2 separate regions of the Homo sapiens genome follow, and region 1 is linked to region 2. Evidence: promoter capture Hi-C in human tissues and cell types (Jung and others, 2019). All regions are on one chromosome and are shown on one strand. Each heading gives the region's core, a stretch centred on a gene start or on the middle of the fragment in contact. The rest is flanking DNA. Distances are from core to core; before and after follow the strand shown.

Evidence for each region. Contacts are between HindIII fragments. The study calls those that stand out against the background at their distance.
Region 1: a fragment that was not itself captured here is called in contact with the fragment with the promoter of SEC14L3 in region 2 in 1 of the 25 tissues and cell types used here (lymphoblastoid cells).

The regions. Positions count from the first base shown.
Region 1 is chr22:30,759,924-30,765,774 of GRCh38, forward strand. All of the region lies in intron 2 of OSBP2 (oxysterol binding protein 2), which reads left to right. Among named protein-coding and RNA genes, the nearest start is that of MIR3200, 31 kb to the left of the region's middle. RefSeq lists a silencer at 4,007-4,056. The HindIII fragment of the contact is 5,000 bases long and covers 1-4,315 here.
Region 2 is chr22:30,467,909-30,474,656 of GRCh38, forward strand. It overlaps SEC14L3 (SEC14 like lipid binding 3), which reads right to left and starts at 4,109. Exons shown (of 12, transcript NM_174975.5): 1 at 3,997-4,109; 2 at 2,599-2,674; 3 at 2,304-2,347; 4 at 2,111-2,170; 5 at 600-788. The coding sequence starts at 4,050. The HindIII fragment of the contact is 19,065 bases long and covers 1-6,317 here.

The DNA.
Region 1 (5,851 bases), core at 566-3,065, 290 kb after region 2:
CAGTCTTGGCTCACTGCAACCTCTGCCTCCCAGGTTCAAGCAGTTCTCCTCCCTCAGCCTCCTTAGTAGCTGGGATTACAGGCATGTGCCACCACGCCCAGCTAATTTTTTTTTTTGTATTTTTAGTAGAGACAGGGTTTCACCATGTTGGCCAGGGTCATCCTGAACTACTGACATCAGGTGATCCGCCTGCCTTGGTCTCCCAAAGTGCTGGGATTACAGGCGTGAGCCACTGCACCCGGCTTTTTTTTTTTTTTTGAGACAGAGTCTTGCACTGTTGCCCAGGCTGGTCTCAAACTCCTGACCTCAAGTGATCTGCTCGCCTTGGCCTCCCAAAGTGCTAGGATTACAGGAGTGAGTAATTTCTAACTCATTTATAAGGACAGCATACCCTGATACCAAACTGAACAAAGATAGTGTAAGAAAAGAAAACTTCGGACCAATATTTCTCATGAGCATAGATGAAAACATCTTCAACAAAATATTAACAATTTGAAACCAGCAATACAATAGAATATTACACCATGATCAAGTGGATTTCATGCTAGGAGTGCAAGATGAGTGCAAGATAGGTGCAAGATAGGTTCCATGTTTGAAAATCAATAAATGGGGCTGGGGGCAGTGGCTCACACCTGTAATCCCAGCACTTTGGAAGGCCAATGCAGGCAGATCACTTGAAGTCAGGAGTTCAAGAGCAGCTTGGCCAACATGGTGAAACCCTGTCTCTACTGAAAATACAAAAATTAGCCAGGCATGGTGGTGCACACCTGTAGTCTCAGCTACTTAGGAGGCTGAGTCAGGAGAATCGCTTGAACCCTGGCAGGGCGGAGGTTGCAGTGAGTGGAGATCGCACCACTGCACCCCAGCCTGGGCAACAGAGCAAGACTCTGTCTCAAAAAAAGAAAAAAAAAAGAAAATCAATATAAATGGAATCATAATATTAACAATCTAAGAAAAACTACATTATAATATCAATTGATACAGAAAAAGGCATTTGACAAAATTTAACATTATTCATGGTAAAAACTCTCAGCAAACTAGGAGACTCCTCCACCTGATTAAGGGCATCTTCAAGAAACTGACATCATATGTAGTGATAGAAGACTGAATGCTTTACTTTCCGCCTAGGATCAGTAAAGTCAAGGATGTCCATGCTCACCCCTCATATTCATCCTAATACTAGCCAGTATTATAATGCAAGAAAAAAGAAGTCAAAGGCACTCAGATTGGGAAGAAAGAAACAGAGCTATCCCTATTTGCAAGCGACATGATGGCTGTGTAGAAAAATCCCAGGAAATCTACAAAAATATTTTTAGAGTGAGTTTAACAAGGTCACAGAATACAAGGTCAGTACATAAAGGCCAGTCATATTTCTGTGTATTAGCAATGAACAATTGGTAACAAAAAATTTTTAAAAATCACTTACAATGACCCCATGAAATACTTAGATATAATTATAACAAAACAAATATAGTATCTATATGTAAATAGTGTTAAATACTGATGAAATAGAAGACCAAAATAAATGGAGAGACATACAATGCTCATGGATCAGAAGATTCAAGAGAGTAAAGACGTCAGTTTTCCCTTGACTGATCAGTAGCTTGAATGCAATTCCAAAAAAAATCCCAGCAGGACATTTTCTCAGCATAGACAAACTTATTATACATTTATATGAAAAGATAAAGAAATTAGACTAGCTAAAGCAACTTTGAAAAAGAAGAATAAAGGTGGAGTAATTACTCAATTTTAAGACTTATCATAAAGAAACAAGACAGTGTGATGTTGGCAAACACTATATAGATTAATGAGATAGACATATACATTAATGGAACAGAATGGAGAGTCCAGAAATGGGCCCAGACAAATATGGTCAGATGGCTTTTGACAGAGGTGCAGAAACAATTTAATTGAGAAAGGTTAGTCTTTTCAACAAGTAGTGTTGGAACAATTGGACATCCATATGCAATAAAATGAATCTTGATTTATACTTCTTATTTATATAAAATTTAACTCAAAATGTAAACCATACAACTATAATACTCCCAGCAGTTTGGGAGGCCGAGGCGGGTGGATCACTTGAGCCCAGGAGTTCGAGACCAGCCTGGGCGATATGGCGAAACTCCATCTCTACCCAAAATAGAAATATTAGCCAGGCATAGTGGTGTGCAACTGTAGTCTCAGCTATTTGGAGGCTGAGTCAGGAGAGAATCATTTGAACCTGGGAAGCAGAGGTTTCAGTGAACCGAGATTACACTACTGCACTCCAGCCTGGGTGACAGAGTGAGACTCCATCTCAAAAAATAAAAAATAAAAAATAAAATAAAAATAAAATGCAATTTTGGGCCGGGCGCGGTGGCTCACGCCTGTAATCTCAGCACTTTGGGAGGCCAAGGCGGGTGGACCACGAGGTCAGGAGATCGAGACATCCTGGCTAACACGGTGTAACCCTGTCTCCACTGAAAATACAAAAAATTAGCCGGGCGTGGTGGCGGGCGCCTGTAGTCCCAGCTACTCGGGAGGCTGAGGCAGGGGGTGAACCCAGGAGGCAGAGCTTGCAGTGAGCTGAGATTGCACCACTGCACTCCAGCCTGGGCAACAGAGCAAGACTCCGTCTCCAAAAAAAAAAAATGCAATTTTGATTTATGTCTCTTCTCTGGCTCCTCTTGCGCTCTAGACCCATCCAGCTTCTGCTGTCTTCACTGGCACACCATCTTGCTGCCAGCCAGCGTGAATGCTGTACCTCTTGTTGGCAAGGTCTGTTCCCTAGTATCCAGCCCCTTCCCACACCCTATTTTCCTCAAGTCTGTTTACCCTCCAGGGAGAGGCCATTCAGGAAAGCCTTCTCTGAGCCAGCCTCCTGCCTGGGCCAGATGTTTGCTCCCAGGTGTTTGCTCCTTGGCTCAGCCCCTCGAGCATGGTAGCGTAGCAGTTAGTCTGAGCATGGGCTTCCTAGAGCCTCAGAGTCCCCGCTTGTCAGTCCCCTAGAAGCTTCAATTCTGTGCTTCCCAGGGTCCCTTCAATCAAAGATTTCTAAGTCAGTGGAAGCAGAGATGCTGGAGCCAGCCTGCCTGGGTTCAAATCGTGGCTCCCACACTTACCCACTGTGTGACCTTGGACAAGTTGCTTGCCGTCTTTTGCATCATTTCTCTCCTTTGTAAAATGGGTTTCATGATAGAACCAACTCTTAGAGGTGCTGTGAGGATTAGTTTAGATAATGTGTGAAGAGATCTTGGCACACGGCTTGGCAAACACTCGACTAAAGTAAGCTGCAGTTATTGATAGTCACTTTCGCAGCTTTAAAATAATACAGGTTCCCAAGAAGTCCCCTGCCCTGCTAAAACAGAATGAGAATGACTTTTGGGTGCAGAGGGTATTTGTATTTTTTTTCAAAAGCTCCTTGAGTGGGATTGGCAGATTCAAAATATACAAACACAGGTTGGCCGGGTGCAGTGGCTTACGCCTGTAATCCCAACACTTTGGGAGGCTGAAGTGGACAGATCACTTGAGGTCAGAAGTTCAAGACCAGCCTGGCCAACATGGTGAAACCTGTTTCTACTGAAAATACAAAAATTATCCAGGTGTGGTGGTGCATGCCTCTAATCCCAGCTACTTGGGAGGCTGAGGCAGGAGAATTGCTTGAACCCAGGAGGTGGAGGTTGCAGTGAGCCGAGATTGAGCCACTGCTCTCCAGCCTGGGCAACAGAGTGACAGAAAAAAAAAAAAAAACCCACAGGTCACCCAGTTTAATTTGAGCTTCAAATACAAAACGAATAATATTTTAGTATAAGGATGTCTCATGCAATATTTGGGCAGTCTATATACTAAAATTTATTTATTGTGTGTCTGAAATTCAAATGTAACTGGGCATCCTGCATTTTATCTACGAGCATTTAACCCTATCCTGGGGGACCTTGACCCCCAGCCCACTTGGGGTCTCTGCTCCCAACTCCCTGGTCCAAAGGCAAACCTCCAAGTCAGAAAAGAGATAGTATCCTTTTACTTGACACAGGGGGGCGCTAGAAGATGGCTTGTTCGCTTTCTTTTCTGTAACTCAGTGTCTAGGGAAGCACCAGCAGGTTGGCTGGCTTGCAACAAATCTCTCCGTACCTGTGAGTCATTTTCTGATGTTCAGGTTTGTAAGAAACCGATACAGAGCTGGCCACCTCCCTCTTGGGCCTTCACTTCTGGGGGGCTAGCCTAGCGCCTCAGGGGCTCCCCGGTTCTCGCCTCCCCTAGGCTCGCCTACCCTCCATTGATGTCATAACTCTATTCTGATATCACAGCCCAGCACTTGGAATTATCCCAGGCAGCCCAGGCTCTGCCCTTAGAGCAACTAGAGCAGGCAGTAGAGTGGGGTGGGCGGGGATGAGGAGGGGGTTGGGTGGCTGGTGGCCCTAGAGGCTGGCCCTAAAGAATACCTGGACAGCCTGCCACCCTATTGCTCCAAAATGAAAATCCTCTAACAGGTAGGACTTGGAAGAATTTCCTCCTGTTCCTGTTGGGTGTGATCCCACTGAGGTGGAAATAAATTCCCAGGGAGTGTGGCGTTGTTCTGGCTCTGTAAACAGCTCTCGGGAACCCTGCTGCCTGTGTGCCTGGGGATGCAAGTGGGCTTGGTCCACTTAACAGTCCTCTCTTCCCGTTTGAAGGAATGACTTCACAAAGCACAGTGTTTCTTACTTGTTGGGGGAGACATTCCTTAGGGCTTGGAGAATGCCTGCAGATACTGATCCAGGTTCTTCTGTGGCCACTGCCTCTGTCCTCACTCCCTAAGAAGATGGATGGGAACAGGGTTATGCTCTCCTTAGAACAAAGGGAAAATATAGGTGCATTCAAGCTATTGACCCTCAGACCCCTCAGTCCTGAGGAGGAGAGAAGCCCCATCCTCCCAGCTGGCCAGACAGTATAAAGAACTCTCTTATGAACTCACTTGAGTGAAAATTTGACTGGTATGGATTAAACAACACAAGAAAAGAAAACTGAATAACTTCTCTCTTACTTTGAGGGACATGAAGTCTTCCTGGGGGAGCATGTTAAAACTGCAGATTCCTAGGGCAGGACCACTGAGATTCAGATCCGATGGTCATATGGCACCTAGGGACCCCCATTTTAATTTTTATTTGTTTTAATTTAATTTAAATTTTTTTTATAGAGACAGGGCCTCACCGTGTTGCCCATGCTGGTCTCAAACTGCTGGGCTCAGGCAATTTTCCTGCCTCGGCCTCCCAAAGTGCTGGATTACAGGTGTGAGACACCCGGCCCTCCCCCATTTTTATTTTTTATTTTTATTTATTTATTTTTGAAATGGAGTCTTGCTCTGTTGCCCAGGCTGGAGTGCAGTGGTACGATCTCAGCTCACTGCAACCTCCACCTCCCGGGTTCAGACGATTCTCCTGCCTCAGCCTCCCCAGTAGCTGGGATTACAGGCTTGTGCCACCATGCCTGGCTAATTTTTGTGTTTTTAGTAGAGATGGGTTTCACCATGTTGTCCAGGCTGGTCTTGAACTCCTGACCTCAAGTGATCTGCCCACCTCCGCCTCCCAAACTGCTAGAATTACAGGCGTGAGCAACCACTCCCTACCTTCCCCCATTTTTATAATAAACATTCTACACAGGGCTCCTGCCAGCCCTCCAAGCTTCTCACTTTGAGAAGCACAGTCCGCTCTGTCAGACTCCCTGGATTGCTTATTGCTGCTATCTCTCTTCCCCCATCTCCAAATTCCATGTTTTTCTTGGAGGGAGGTTTAATTCAGCTTTACTCCACATATTTATTTAATGTGCTGGATCCAGGAAGACAAAAGTGATGGTGTAGGGCCTTATTGTTCATCAAGTGCATTGTATCTGAGTT
Region 2 (6,748 bases), core at 2,859-5,358:
TGAGGCTCAGACAGGTGAAATGACATATTCAAAACACTGAAGCAAAACAAAACAAAGCAAAAAAACCCATCAACCAAGAATTCTATTCCCGGCCTGGTACGGTGGCTCACGCCTGTAATCCCAGCACTTTGGGAGGCTGAGGCGGGTGGATCACAAGGTCAGGAGATCGAGACCATCCCGGCCAACATGGTGAAACCCCGTCTGTATTAAAAACACAAAAATTAGCCCTGCGTGGTGGCGGGCGCCTGTAATCCCAGCTACTCAGGAGGCCGAGGCAGGAAAATCCCTTGAACCTGGGAGGCGGAGGTTTCAGTGAGCCAAGATCACACCACTGCACTCCAGCCTAGGTGACAGAGCGAGACTCTGTCTCAAGCAAAAAAAAAAAGAGGGTTCTATTCCCAGCAAAAGTATCCTTCAAGAAACTGTCTTTCTGTGACTGTGACTTTTCAAGGCCACACAGCTGGTAAGCAACAGAGCTGGTGTTTGACCCCAGAGCCCTCTGACTGTGGTTGTAGAGAACACAGGTGTGTTTCTGAGACCAATCCCCCCGGCAGCCTCACCTGCCCCCAGCCATCCACCCCACCTGGCCTGGACCTCACCCTCTCTGTCTGCAGGTCACACTCATGCAGGATGCGCTCACAGTCCCTCATCTTGGTCTTGAGCAGGTCCTGCTTGGTGACTGAGAAGAGCAACCCCTTGGGATCAAGTGGCCCAATGATGTCATACCACACGGGGCAGCCATCACGGTCATAGCCACACAGGCCCCCAGGCATGTACTTCTGGATCACCTGGGCATGAAAAGATGCACAGAACTTGGCATTACACACCTCCCTTGAGACCCCAGACCAGGCTGACCTGGGTGGCCCAAGCCTACACACACCATGGTATAAAAAGCACTGTCCCTCCCTGGAAGACAGTGCTATTGTCTCAGGTGAGAAAGCTGAGGTCCTGCAGGGGAGGGCCTTGCTCACAGAGGGTAAATGGCAAAGCCAGGTCTCAGCAGGCCCTTGGACTTCTTAGGTCTGCCCCTGATGTCTCCCGTGTCCCTTTCTGTGGAGAAGAGTCGGGTTTAGTGATGGAGAACACAGATTCTGAAGGTTAACAGAGCTGGTTCAAAAACAGACACTGGCTGGGCATGGAGGCTCATGCCTGTAATCCCAGCTACTCAGGAGGTTGAGGCAGATGGGATCTCCTGAGGCCAGGAGTTTGAGACCAGCTTGGGCAACAGAGAGAGACCCTGTCCCTACAAAAATAAAAGAAATTAGCCAGCTGTGGTAATACACATCTGTAGACTTGGGAGGCTGAGGTGGGAGAATCACTTGAGCCCAGGAGTTCAAGGCTGCAGTGAGCCATGATCATGACACTGCACACCAGCCTTGGCAACAGAGTGAGACCCCATCCAAAAAAAAAAAAAAAAAGCAGATACTGCTGCTTCTGTACTGTGTGTCCTTGAGCAAGTGACACCACCTCTCTGAGCTCCATTCTACCTACTTTTTTTGTAAAATGGTTTGGATAACCCCTCACTCTTGGGACTGTTGGGGAAAGTCCCTGAGATAAAGTTGGCAAAGCAGAGTGCCCAGATCCGGGTACATGCCCTACAAGTGAAGACGTGACCATTACTCTACTAAGATGCCAGTGGTGGCACTGTCCTCATCAGTGCCTTGATGGGCTAAACTTCTTTCCCACCCAGACAGGATGCTTTAGGCAATGCCTTAGGGGGCAGGGGTGCAGAAGCACAGGCTAACCGTGGTGGTTACGAGCCTGGGTTTGGGGGCCCAAACAGGCCTGAGCATAAATCCCAGCCCTACCTTGGGCTATGGGACTGTGGGCAAGTTACCTAATTTTTGCTGGGCTTCAGTGTCCTCATCCACAAAATGGGGACAATAGCATCCATCATTGTGATGATTAAAGAAGCTCATGCTGCTAACATCTTAACCTAGGCCTGGACCTTGCAAGCCCCCAGGAAACATTCATTATGACTGTAGGAAAGGAGACTGCAGGCCTGCGGGTTCCACAGGCCTCTCAGGCTTGCTGCCCCTCATTCATGGTCCCCAGTGACCTTGAGTGGTACGTCCGTGAAAGACTGAGGTGTTTGGCGGTGTTGGCTCACCTCTGGGGGCTGCCAATCAAGGATATGGTCAATATCCATGGTCTTCCGGAACTCCATGTACTGAAAGGGAAATGAGTGGTAAGATCCCACTGGGCTCCCAGTGCCCTGAGAACAGGGATGGAAGGAGGGGCTTGAGGCATGGATTGCCCCTGACAAATCCCCTCCATAAATTTCCAGAGTGGATAGGTCTCACCTTGCGGAGCAAAGCCTCCGACTTCTGCAAGTCAAAATTCCGAGCTGTGGGAAAACAGAAGGAAGGTGTGAGACAGGAAAGATGCCTTGTCTTACTCCTGGCCAGTGGGAGCTATGGAGGACACTGGGGGCCTGGGTGAGACCTTGCTCCCCTACCCCCTTCCCTCCTCTGGACCTGAACATGTGAAGCAAGATTGTGTGGATGGACCCTGAGAGCCATGAGACACTCTGGAGCAGTTGAGACCAGGCCCCTCTTGATGCCCCCTGATCCCAACCTCTCCCACCTCTGCCCTCACCTCGGAGCCAGCGTAGAAGGAAATAATCATCAGGGTTGGGCAGGGCAGGAAGCACATCCTGGACGTTTTCTCGGAACTGGCAAGAGAGATGCTGGTTAAAGTGGCTCTCTCACATTGAGCCTTGGCCTCCAGACTCAAAGACTGTTTTCACAACCTCTCCTTTCCTCCCACATGCAAAATGGCCCACATTGATGAAAGGATGGGTTAATGGTTGAATAGAAGGGCAGATGGATCACTGGATAGGTGGATGAATGGAAGGAGGATAGATGGATGAATAAATGGTTAGAAAGAAGAATAGATGGGTGAGTGGGTAGGTAGATGGAAAAAGGGAGAAGAAATCAATGGATGAATGGATAGATGGATGGATGGAGAGTGGGTGGGTGGATAAATCAGTGAATGGACAGAGGAGAGATGGGTGGGTGATTGAGAGAAAGAAAGATGGATAGGTGGCTGCGTGGGTAGGAAGAGGGATGGGTGGATGAAAGAAAGGATAAACAGCCAGGTATGGTGGCTCACGCCTGTCATCCCAGCACTTTAGGAGGCTGAGGTTGGTGGATCACCTGAGGTCAGGAGTTTGAGACCAGCCTGGCCAACATGGTGAAAACTCATCTCTACTAAAAATACAAAAATTAGCCAGGTGTGGTGGCACATGCCTGTAATCCCAGCTACTCAGGAGGCTGAGGCAGGAGAATTGCTTGAACCTGGGAGACAGAGGCTGCAGTGAGCTGAGATCGCTCCACAGCACTCCAGCCTGGATGACAGAGACTCCATCTCAAAAAAAAGAAGAAAAAGAAGAAGAAAGGATAAATAATTGGGTGGATGAATAAGTGGATTGGAGTTTGGATGCATTCTTAGTTCCCTCCATGTGTTAGCCCTCAAAACATCTGCTTTTTTTCATCCCATCTTCTATTAAAACATGGTTAATAATTATATGTCCTCTTCTTCCTTTAGCTCTTTGAAAGACAACACTTTCTGCTCTGTCTCTTGGGCTTTTACAGACTGGTCATCTTTCAGGATCCCAAAGAGGAAGGGGTTAAAGGGCAGACCAGCAGCATCTTTCAGCTCCTACCTATGGTGCCTGGGAGGGAGGAACGGGGGTACCTGGCTGCCAGGTAAACCTCTCTGGTTCTGGCTCCTGGATGAGAAGAAGTCAGGCTTGACTTGGGTGGGCACCACCCACGTTATTGCCTGGAAGTGGTGCTAGTCCCTCAACCCCCGCCCGGGACAGGGTTGATGTTACTGGGCACCGTGGGGCTTGACCCTTTGGGAGGTAACACCAAAGAGACAATGTCAAGGACATGCTGAATCAACTGAGTGGGGCAGGATTCCAGCCACTTCTTTCCACCCCCCAGCCCCTTTCCCCTGGTCTTCCGGAACTCCAGGGGGAGGGGCTCTCACCTTGGCCAGGGTCTCTGCCTGTTTGGGGCTCAGGTCTCCAACTCGGCCGCTCATGGTGCTGGCTGGGGCTTGAGGAGTGGTGGCCACTATAGGCAAGAGGCCAAGCCTAGTTTGTCAGCCCTGACCCAGCTGGGTCCTTTTGCCCCCACTCCTGGGCGTGGCTCCAAGCGCCTCCTCATGGGCCAACTGTTTAAATTGCAGATTACATAATTGGGATTAAGTGAGGTCCCCTGCTTGGCTTGGGGACAGATCTGGAGGGGCAGGCGGGCATGGAGCGTGTGCCAGAGGTCCCCTGCCAGGAGGAGGCAGCTGGGAGGAAGGGAGGCTGGCCTCCCGTGACCTTGGAGCCCAGAGTGAGTGCCTGTAGAACCCGCTGACCCTCCCAGGCCTCCAGTGACCACTGCCCTGGAGAAGGGGGAGTTTCAGGAGAATGAGGACCGCTCCTTGTGGGTACCCTTTCTCCCTGAGCCCCAGTCTTCCCACACTTAGGATTCTGCAAAGATCACCCCCCTCTACCCAGCTCTGAAAGGGTAGGATTCTGAGGCTTGGTCAGTGTAGTAAACAGTTCATTCACTTTGTTGGGGGTGGGAGGCCCAGGTCCTTCTTTTGTGTCCACAGTCAAGAAGAGGACAGATGGCATCTTTTGAACGTCACTTGCTTCATTTATAAAATGGGGCCGTTAATGTTTGCCTTCCCCTCCTTATGTGGTTAGAGGGAAGATCTAATGAGACATAGGGACTGTCAAGGGTTGTGTGCATCTGAGGGATACTCTCCTTCAGCTCTCCTGGTCCCCCCTGGAGCTGTAAGCTTCAGCTCCAGGAAGGGAGAGACCCTGTTATCCATGACTCTCTCTGAAGAAACCATCAGCTTGAGGCTGCAGCATGGCCACATGGCCACATGGCCACATCTCAGCCTTGAGGGGGTCTGCATGGGCTGAAACCAACCCCGGGCTAGCCTCGGCCCCAGCAGCTGGGCTAGCCCACACCATTCTGCCTAGGGCTTTTCTAGGTCCCCTACTCCTGGGGCATCCTGGGTACCCACCCCTGAGCTACAGTGGGCCTCTATTCTGGGCTAACCCAGGGTCTCTTTAGGCTAGTAGATGTTGGTCAGTATCAGACATCTTCTCAGGGACATCTTCCTTGCTCTGGGCTCCTCACAGAGTTGGATCCAGAAGGAGAAGGCAGGGCTAATGCTGGCCATTTCCCTCTGCCTGGGGAGCCCGTGGCATGTACTCAGGAACAGTTAGGTAACTCTCCACACCCCAGCCCTGCCCCATTTCACATTCCAGCCTCAATTTCTGCAAAGCCCCAGCTGCTGTCTACACCCACTTCCTGCCAGGCCAGTAATGTACAGAGATTGGGTTCCTCCACTGCCCTTTCCCGAGCCACTAATCCTGCCCATTTCTCACCAGTCTCCTTTCTCACCCTAATCCCTATAATGTGAGGTGTGCTAGTTACTTCTAGGGGCATCGGAGACTGTGAAGGAGAGCCAGGAGGGAGGGTTGGGGGTCTCCTCAGGAGTTGTGAGCCTTCACACTGAGCTCTTTTCCTGACCCAGACCACAGATTTGTCAAGTACCTTGCTATGTTCACAAATCCTCATCAGCTACAGTGCCACTCCACAGAACTTCCTGTGATGGTAGACATCTTCTGTCTGGGGTGTCCTGTTAGACATATCTGGTAGCCACTAGTTACATGTGAAAGATGGTTAGCGTGACTGAGGAACTGAAGTTTTAATTGAATTGGATTTTGATACATTTTACTTTAAATTGTTCAATCTGGCTAGTGGTTACCATATTGGATGGTGCAGGTGGCCCATTTTTATTTTATTCTACTTTATTTTATTTTATTTTTGAGACAGGGTCTCACTCTGTTGCCCAGGCTGGAGTGCAGTGGCATGATCTCGGCTCACTACAGCCTCGACCTCCCCAGGCTCAATCAATCCTCCCCACCTCAACCCCCCGGAGTAGCCTGGACTGCAGGCACATTCCACCACGCCCTGCTAATTTCTTATATTTTTTGTAGAGATGGGGTCTCATTACATGCATTACCTCATTTTGGCCTGGTGAGGTGGCTCACACGTGTAAACCCAGCACTTTGGGAGGCCGAGGCAGGTGGATCACCTGAGGTCAGGAGTTCCAGACCAGCCTAGCCAACATGGCAAAACCGTGTCTGCTAAAAATACAAAAATTAGCCGGGCGTGATGGCGGATGCCTGTAATCCCAGTTACTCAGGAGGCTGAGGCAGGAGAATGGCCCGAACCTGGGAGGCGGAGGTTGCAGTGAGCCGAGATCATGCCACTGCACTCCAGCTTGGGGGACAGAGTGAGACTCCATCTCAAAAAAGAAAAAAGCAGTGCATTACCTCATTTAAACCTCAGAACATACCTGTGGTGTTGGGTAGGTACTATTACGCCCATTATGCAGATAAGCAAACTGAGGTATGGAGAAGTAACTTATCCAGGGGTAAACCCATGCAATTAACCACTCTGCCATTGTGCTGTTATGCTATCCCATAGTCTTGGCTCTAGGAGCTTCCACCTTAGTTAGGGAGAGAGCCTAAGCATGAAAGTCACCTATATGTGATGCAGTTGGCATCTGAGCCAGGCCTTGAAGAAAGGAAGGATTTTGATTTATGGAGAGCAGAATAAAGGGCATCCCAAGTGGAGGGGATGGCATGGGCAAAGGCATGGAGGTGGGAAAGTGAGAAGCATGTGGAGGGGGTAGATTACAGCAAACAAGACAGATTAGGACC